Regions from separate parts of the Homo sapiens genome. Here all the other regions are linked to region 1. Evidence: promoter capture Hi-C in 16 types of primary human blood cells and fetal thymus (Javierre and others, 2016). All regions are on one chromosome and are shown on one strand. The core of a region is centred on a gene start or on the middle of the fragment in contact, and the rest is flanking DNA. Distances in the headings are between cores, read along the strand shown. Region 1 holds the start of SUSD1 (sushi domain containing 1). Region 2 has its middle 23 kb from the start of HSDL2. Region 3 overlaps PTBP3 (polypyrimidine tract binding protein 3).

What was found. Contacts are between HindIII fragments. The CHiCAGO score rates a contact against its expected background, and 5 or more counts as called.
Region 2: a contact is called between a fragment that was not itself captured here and the fragment with the promoter of SUSD1 in region 1, in 11 of 17 cell types (erythroblasts, endothelial precursors, non-activated CD4 T cells and 8 more). The highest score is 7.1, in erythroblasts.
Region 3: a fragment that was not itself captured here is called in contact with the fragment with the promoter of SUSD1 in region 1 in 1 of 17 cell types (megakaryocytes); the score reaches 9.7 in megakaryocytes.

Annotation. Positions count from the first base shown.
Region 1 is chr9:112,174,041-112,176,548 of GRCh38, forward strand. It overlaps SUSD1 (sushi domain containing 1), which reads right to left and starts at 1,257. Exons shown (of 17, transcript NM_022486.5): 1 at 1,093-1,257. The coding sequence starts at 1,195. RefSeq lists a silencer at 716-1,375. The HindIII fragment of the contact is 4,774 bases long and covers 1-2,508 here.
Region 2 is chr9:112,355,667-112,358,174 of GRCh38, forward strand. It overlaps a transcript of PTBP3 not described here. Among named protein-coding and RNA genes, the nearest start is that of HSDL2, 23 kb to the right of the region's middle. The HindIII fragment of the contact is 4,467 bases long and covers 1-2,508 here.
Region 3 is chr9:112,317,838-112,320,345 of GRCh38, forward strand. All of the region lies in intron 1 of PTBP3 (polypyrimidine tract binding protein 3), which reads right to left. Among named protein-coding and RNA genes, the nearest start is that of PTBP3, 15 kb to the right of the region's middle. The HindIII fragment of the contact is 7,603 bases long and covers 1-2,508 here.

The DNA.
Region 1 (2,508 bases), core at 7-2,506:
GAGACGGCTTCCAGTGGCTTCCAGGCACAGCTAAGTCCAAAGGCCTAGGTCTGCCAATCAAGGCACTCTGCCCTCTGCCTCTGGTGCCTCCGTGTGCTTCCTTCCCTTCTCCCCCGGGCCTGAATTCTGAAGGAATTCATTCATTCTACACTCATTTGTGGAGAGGTGACAGTGCCTTCTGCTATGAGCTGGGATACCTTTTTCACATTTTCCCATATCCAAATATGACCAATCATTGATGGCCCAGCTCAAGGGTCACCACCGATTCCCCTTTCCCTGCCCTCACCACCCACACCTTCTCATGGCACCCATGCCATTCTGCCTTGTATTACAGTTATGTGGATGAATGTCACCTCCCCTGCGTGTCTGAATCCTCTGTGTAATTCCTACTCAGCTCAACACTGCATTTTGCAGAGGAGGAAAAACAACTCCCTCGATTGCTTGGAAATAGAACATTTGCTGGTCTAAATCCTCCAGACAATGAGCTCCACGAGGGCCCGCACTGCCCGCCCTCATCGCGCACAGGGAAGCTGTTCAAGGGCCATCTGTTGAATGAATGAGTGAATTAATGGCTTCACTCCTGTACTCTTCCTTACGCGTCTTTCTCACCATATTTAGCATCCGGCTCTCTAACAACGTGAAAAAATTAAAAGTGGTAAGAAAATTGCTTCGGGTCAAAAATGTGTCATGCAAAAGCCACCGCAGAGCCGGAAGCGTGACAGCGCCGCAGAACGCCCTGGCCTCCCCGCCCTTCCCCGGGCGCCGCCCTGCCCGGGTCCGCGCTCGCGCCCAGCCCCCACCCCGCCTCCTGGGCAGTGGAGGTCCCTGGGGGCCCGGCCAGGCCGCCTTAAAACCGGCGTCCCCCGGCGTCGCGGGGTCGGGCGGGGGCAGGGAAGCCCGGCGGGGAGCCCCCCGCTTCTCTGAGCTCCTCCTTGCCGATCTCCAACGGCCGGCGCGGGCCCCACCTGCGCCCCACGCCTCGGCACCGCGCCGGCCCGGCCCAGGGGCGGGGAAGCGTCCGTGCGCCCAGAGTCCTCGAGGCCCAGCCGGGGGCCCCGCCGGCCGCCCGTGCCCGTCCCAGCCCGCACTCACCGTCGGGGCCCGGCGCTCCCGCGGCGCCGCGGGCCAGGCCGAGCAGCAGCAACAGCGGCAGCAGGCGGCGAGACGGGCCCGCATCCCAGGGCCCCCGGCCCATGCCGCCGCCGGTCCCTCCCGGCGCGCCCGCGCCTCCTCCCGGGGCCCTCAGGGTGCAGAGATAAGGCTACAGGCGCCGCGGGGAGGGGACCAGCCGGCGGCTTCCGGCGCCGCCGAGGGAAGCGGGGGGCGCTGCGGGGTCCCCGGGAGGCCGCAGAGCGCGGGTCCTTCCTCTTGTCGGGGCCTGGGCTTAGGACACGCCCGTTCCGCGTCCGTCTCTGGCTCCGCACTTGCTGCCCTCTCGCCGCTCACATTCGCAAAGGGGGACAGACACTCATCGGATAATGACACAGCTGGACGCAGAGCCCCGGAGAGTGCTGGGGAGGAAATGTTGCGGAGGATTCAAGCCACTCGAGGGCTCAGGGAGGCACCCCCGGGGAGAGGGGTGAGGGGAGCAAGGGGCGGAAATCTTCCAGGACGTGAAAGGGAGCTGGATGAGGTGACCACAGCGCAAGGCCCAGATGAGAGGTCGGAAGACGCAGACCCAGGCCACCCAGGGGCGACACACTTGACCAGGTGACACCTGGTCACCGGGAGTGAGAGAGAGTAGGGCTGTGATGGAGGGAGGGGCTGGCATCAGTCCCCGCTGCTCTGAGGACACCCGGCTTGGGACGCGCTGATGCCAGCCCCTACCTCCATCACAGCCGTACTCATCCCAAGGGAAGGAGTAAACCAAGACCCAAGGATGAGAAGGACGTTGGGGAGGAATCTAAGCGGGAGTTTGTTGTAGAAATGGGGAATGGGGACCTAGAGTGAGAGCAGAGGGTTGGAGAGGGGCGTTGAGCTGCAGAGGGAAGTTAGCCCTCCTAACCCAAGTGATGGAGGTCGCCGGGAAGCTGTCACAGTTTCAAGCAGTGAATGACTTCATCACTGACACATCTCTGTCTGTTCTGTGGAATTGGGATTGGGGTTGGGTTGGGATGTGGAAGGCAAAGAGTCCAGCCCGGAGTTGCTGCAGGAATCAGGCAATAGAAGACATGTCCTGGCCCGGTGCGGTGGCTCACGCCTGTAATCCCAACACTTTGGGAGGTCGAGGCGGGTGGATCACTTGAGGTCAGGAGCTCGATACCAGCCTGGCCAACTTGGTGAAACCCCGTCTCTACTGAAAAAAAAAAAATTAGGTGGGCACGGTGGCAGGCACCTGTAATCCCAGCTACTCGGAAAGCTGAGGCGAGAGAATTGCTTGAACCCAGGAGGCGGAGGTTGAAGTGAGCCGAGCTCGCACCACTGCACTCCGGACTGGGCGACAGAGTGAGACTCCATAGACAGATAGATAGATAGATAGATAGATAGATAGATAGATAGATAGATAGA
Region 2 (2,508 bases), core at 3-2,502, 180 kb after region 1:
CCCAAGCTGGAGTGCAGTGGCGTGATCACAGCTCACTGCAGGCTTGACCTCCTGGGTTCAAGCAATCCTCAGCCTCCTGAGTAGTTGTGATTACAGGCATGCGCCACCGCGCCTGGCTAATTTTTGTATTTTTTTGTAGAGACAGGGTTTCGCGTTGGCCAGGCAGTCTCAAACTCCTGGACTCAAGCCATCTATCCGGCTTGGGCTCACAAAGTGCTGGGAATACAGGCAGGAGCCACCACACCCCACCTGGAAATAAAAGTTTCTTTCTTTTCTTTTCTTTCTTTCTTTCTCTTTCTCTTTCTCCTTCCTTCCTTCTTTCTTTCTCTTTCTTTTCTTTCCTTCCTTCTTTCCTTCTTCTTTTCCTTCTTCCTTTCTTCCTCCCTCCCTTTCTCTCTCTCTCTCTCTTAGATGGATTCTCCTGCCTCAGCCTCCCAAGTAGCTGGGATTACAGGCGCACACCACCACACCAAGCTAATTTTTTGTATTTTTAGTAGAAACAGGATTTCACCATGTCGACCAGGCCAGTCTAGAACTCCTAACCTCAGGTGATCCACCCGCCTCGGCGTCCCAAAGTACTGAGATTACAGGTGTGAGCCACAGTACCGGACTGGAAACTCTTTAAAGCAGCTTTCCCAGAAGTCCTTCCCAGCATCTTCCACATACGTCTCATAAGCCGTAATTTGGTCATGTGGCCATCCCTGGCTGTAAAAGTGGCTGGGAGGTGCAGTGTTTTTGCTGGTTATATTGTCACCTCTAAAAATAATGTTGGTAAGAAGTAGTGGGTAAGCCACTAGCAGTCTGTGTGACATAGCAGTTGTCATATAGTTAAGATTTTTTTCTCTTATGCAATAATTCCACAACTCTTTGGTGAAGAGTTGTGTGGGGCTGGTGTGGTACATAAAGCAACAGAGCAAAAAAAAAAAATGGTGAAATACAGCTTGATCCATGTAGTCACTCCGCTGCTTGTGCTCATATAAGGGAGCAATTGTCTACTGAGGGAATTGTTTTCTAGAATTCCAGGTATCTAGCTCCAAGTTGAGGAAAACCCACAGTGTACTTTGGAGCAGTGGGATTGTCAGAGATATAAGGGAAAGACTCAAGAGGCTTTTGAGACAATTGCGTGTGCGCACACACACACACACACACACACACACAATTTGGCCCCAACCATTTCATTTCAGAGCAGGTGTATATTCATTTCCCTCTTTTTTTTTTTTTTTTTTTTTTGAGACAGAGTTTCACTCTTGTTGCCCAGGCTGGAGTGCAATGGCGTGATCTCAACTCACTGCAACCTCCACCTCCCAGGTTCAAGCGATTCTCCTGCCTCAGTCTCCCGAGTAACTGGGATTATAGGCACCCGCCACCACACCCGGCTAATTTTTTTGTATTTTTAGTAGAGACGGGGTTTCACCATGTTGGTCAGGCTGGTCTCGAACTCCTGATCTCAGGTGATCCGCCCACCTCAGCCTCCCAAAGTGTTGAGATTACAGGCATGAGCCACCGCACCCGGCCTCCCTCTACCTTTTAATACTTCATACTAAGACGTGGAAATTCTCTTGCATAACCCAGCAGAGTTGTCAAATCAGGAAATTCATTACTGATACAATACTTTAATCTCTACTGCATATTCCAATTTGTTAATTTCCAGTAGTGTTCTTTTTGTGTTGTTGTTGTTGTTGTTTTGTTTGTTTGTTTTTTCTGAGCAGGGTCTTGCTCTGTCATCCAGGCTGGTGTGCAGTGGTGCAATCACAGCTCACTGCAGCCTCGACCTTCCTGGGCTCAGTTGATCCTCTTACCTCAGCCTCCTGAATAGCTGAGACTACGCGCAGGCAGCCATGCTTACTAATTTTTGTATTTTTTATAGAGACAGGGTTTTATCATGTTGCCCAGGCCGGTCTTAAACTCCTGGGTTCAAGCAATCTGCTAGACTCAGCTTCCCAAAGTGTTGGGATTACAGGTGTGAACCACTGCACCCAGCCTGCCAATAGTGTTCTTTATAGCAATTTTTTTTTTCTATACAGGAACCAGTTCAGGATTATGTGTTGCGTTGAATTGTCATTTCTTCTTTATTGCAGCTTCTTAGACTTTCTTTCTATTTTTTTATGACATCGACATTTTTGACTTCTTATTCACCTTGGAGAAGGTGTAAACAACTGGAGCAATTTTGCCTCCAGAGGACATTTGGCAATTTCCAGAGACATTTTTGGTTGACAAAACTGGAAGAGTTGGAGATAGATGGGGTGATGGTTGCACAACAATGTAAATGTACTTAATGCCGTTGAACTGTACACTTCAATATAGTTAAAATGGTAAATTTTATGTTAGGTATGTTTTACAAAAATAAACAAAAAAATTTGGCCAGGCGCGGTGGCTCATGCCTGTAATCCCAGCATTTTAGAAGGCCAAGGCAGGTGGATCATCTGAGGTCGGGAGTTCAAGACCAGGCTGGCCAACGTGATGATACCCTGTCTCTACTAAAAAAAATAAAAAATTAGCTGGGCGTGG
Region 3 (2,508 bases), core at 6-2,505, 140 kb after region 1:
TCAGGAGAGGCAGGAGAATCGCTTGAACCCGTGAGTCGGAGGTTGCAGTGAGCCAAGATCGCGCCACTGCACTCCAGCCTGGGTGACAGAGCTAGACTCAAAAACAACAAAAAACAAACAAACAAATCCATTATGAACAACTTTACATGCATAAATCCCAACAACTTAGTTGAAATACAAAAATTCCTTGAAAGATACAAATCCAACACCCATTAATGTTACCAAAGAACAACAAACAAGAAATAAGAAATGTTTCCAACTTAAAAAAGGGCATCTAAGAAAAACCTACAGCTAAGAAAAACTGCCTGTTTTCCCGTAAGGAGCAGCAGTAAGGCAAAGATACATAGAAGTCAGAAAAAGAAATAAAGGTCACCCAGATTAGAAAAGAATAAAACTACATTCTCAGATGACATGATCATGTACATTAAAAATCCTAAGAAATTTACCCAAAAAAAGGTAATAAGTAAGTTTTTATAGCAATATCACAAAACACAAGATCAATATGCAAAGTATTTCTATATATTGACAATAAAACACCATTTACATTAGCAAGAAAAATGGCATACATGTGCAAAACCTGTACACTGAAAACAACAAAACAACATTGAAAGAAATTAAAGACGACATAAAAGAATTTGAAAGCTGGGTGCAGTGGCTCACACCTATAATCCCAGCACTCTGGGAGGCCAAGGTGGGCAGATCACTTGAGGTCAGGAGTTCAAGACCAGCTTGGCCAATATGGTGAAACCCCATCGTGACTAAAAATATAAAACTTAGCTGGGCATGGTAGCACACACCTGTAGTCTCAGCTACTCAGGAAGCTAGGGCAGGAGAATCACTTGAACCTGGGAGGCAGAGGTTGCAGTGAGCTGACATCCCACTACTGCTCTCCAGCCTGGGCAACAGAGTGAGACTGTCTCCAAAAAAAAAAAAAAATTGAGATATTGTTTCATAAAAGACTCAATATGCTTGAAATGTCAAAAAGAAATTAAGAAAATTTCATTTATGGGCCGGGCACAGTGGCTCACGCCTGTAATCCCAGTACTTTGGGAGGCCAAGGCGGGCAGATCACCTGAGGTCGGGAGTTCAAGACCAGCCTGACCAACATGGAGAAATTCCGTCTCTACTAAAAATACAAAATTAGCTGGGTGTGGTGACACATGCCTGTAATCCCATCTACTCGGGAGGCTGAGGCAGGAGAATCTTTTGAACCTGGGAGGCGGAGGTTGCAGTGAGCCGAGATCATGCCATTGCACTCCAGCCTAGGCAACAACAGCGAAACTCCGTCTCAAGAAAAAAAAAAAAAAGAAAGAAAATTTCATTTACAATAGCTACAAAAAAAAAATACTCAGAAATAAATTTAACCAAGAAGGGTACATCAAAAATTACAAAACACTGAAGACGGAAATTGAAGACACAGCCAGGAGCAGTAGCCCACACCTGTAATCCCAGCATTCTGGGAGGCCAAGGCAGGAGGATCACTTAAGCTCAGCAGTTCGAGACCAACCTGGGCAATACAGAGAAACTGCGACTTTACAAAAATAAAAAAATAGCCAGGTGTGGTAGCGTGTGCCTATAGTCCCAGGTATTCAACAGCCAACAGGTATATAAAAACGTGTTTAACATCACTAATCATCAAGACACTACAAATTAAAACCACAAGGAAATATGACCTCACATCTGTTAGAATAGCTATTATCAAAAAAGGAAAAAAAGAAACCCTTGTACACAGTTGGTGGGAATGTAAATTAGTACAGTCATTATGGAAAACAGTATGGAAGTTTCTAAAAATATTAAAAATACAACTACCATATGATCCAGCAATCTTTCTACTGGGTATATATCCAGAGGAAATGGAGTCAGTATGTTGAAAAGACATCTGCATTCCCATGTTCATTGCAGAATTATTCACAATAGCCAAAATATGAAACCAATCAAAATGTCCCTCAGTGGATGAATGGATAAACAAAATGTGGTATACATGTACAATGGAATATTACTCAGTCTTTAAAAAGAAGGAAATCCTGTCATGAGACAACATGGATAAACCCGGAGGACACTGCGTTAAGCAAAATAAGCCAGGCGCAGAAAGTCAAATGCTGCATGATCCCACTTACACGCAGAATCTAAGAAAGCTGAAATCATAGAAGCTGAGAGTATAATTGTGGTTACCAGGGGCTGGGGGTGAAACTGAGGAGATTTTGGTCAAGGATACAAAATTTCAGTTAGCAGAAATAAGTTCGAGAGATCAATTGTTTAACATGGTGACTATATACTTCAGTTTTTAAAATTAGCTGGGCATGGTGGCATGCACCCTATAGGCCTAGCTACTCAGGAGGCTGAGGTGGGAGGATCACTTGAGCCCAGGAGTTCAAGGCTGCAGTGAGCTATGATTGCACCACTGCAATACAGCCTGGGCAACAGGACGAGACCCTTTCTCTTAAAAAAAAAAAAATATATATATATATATATATATATTTTTTTTTAAGTGTTATCACCAGAAAAAAT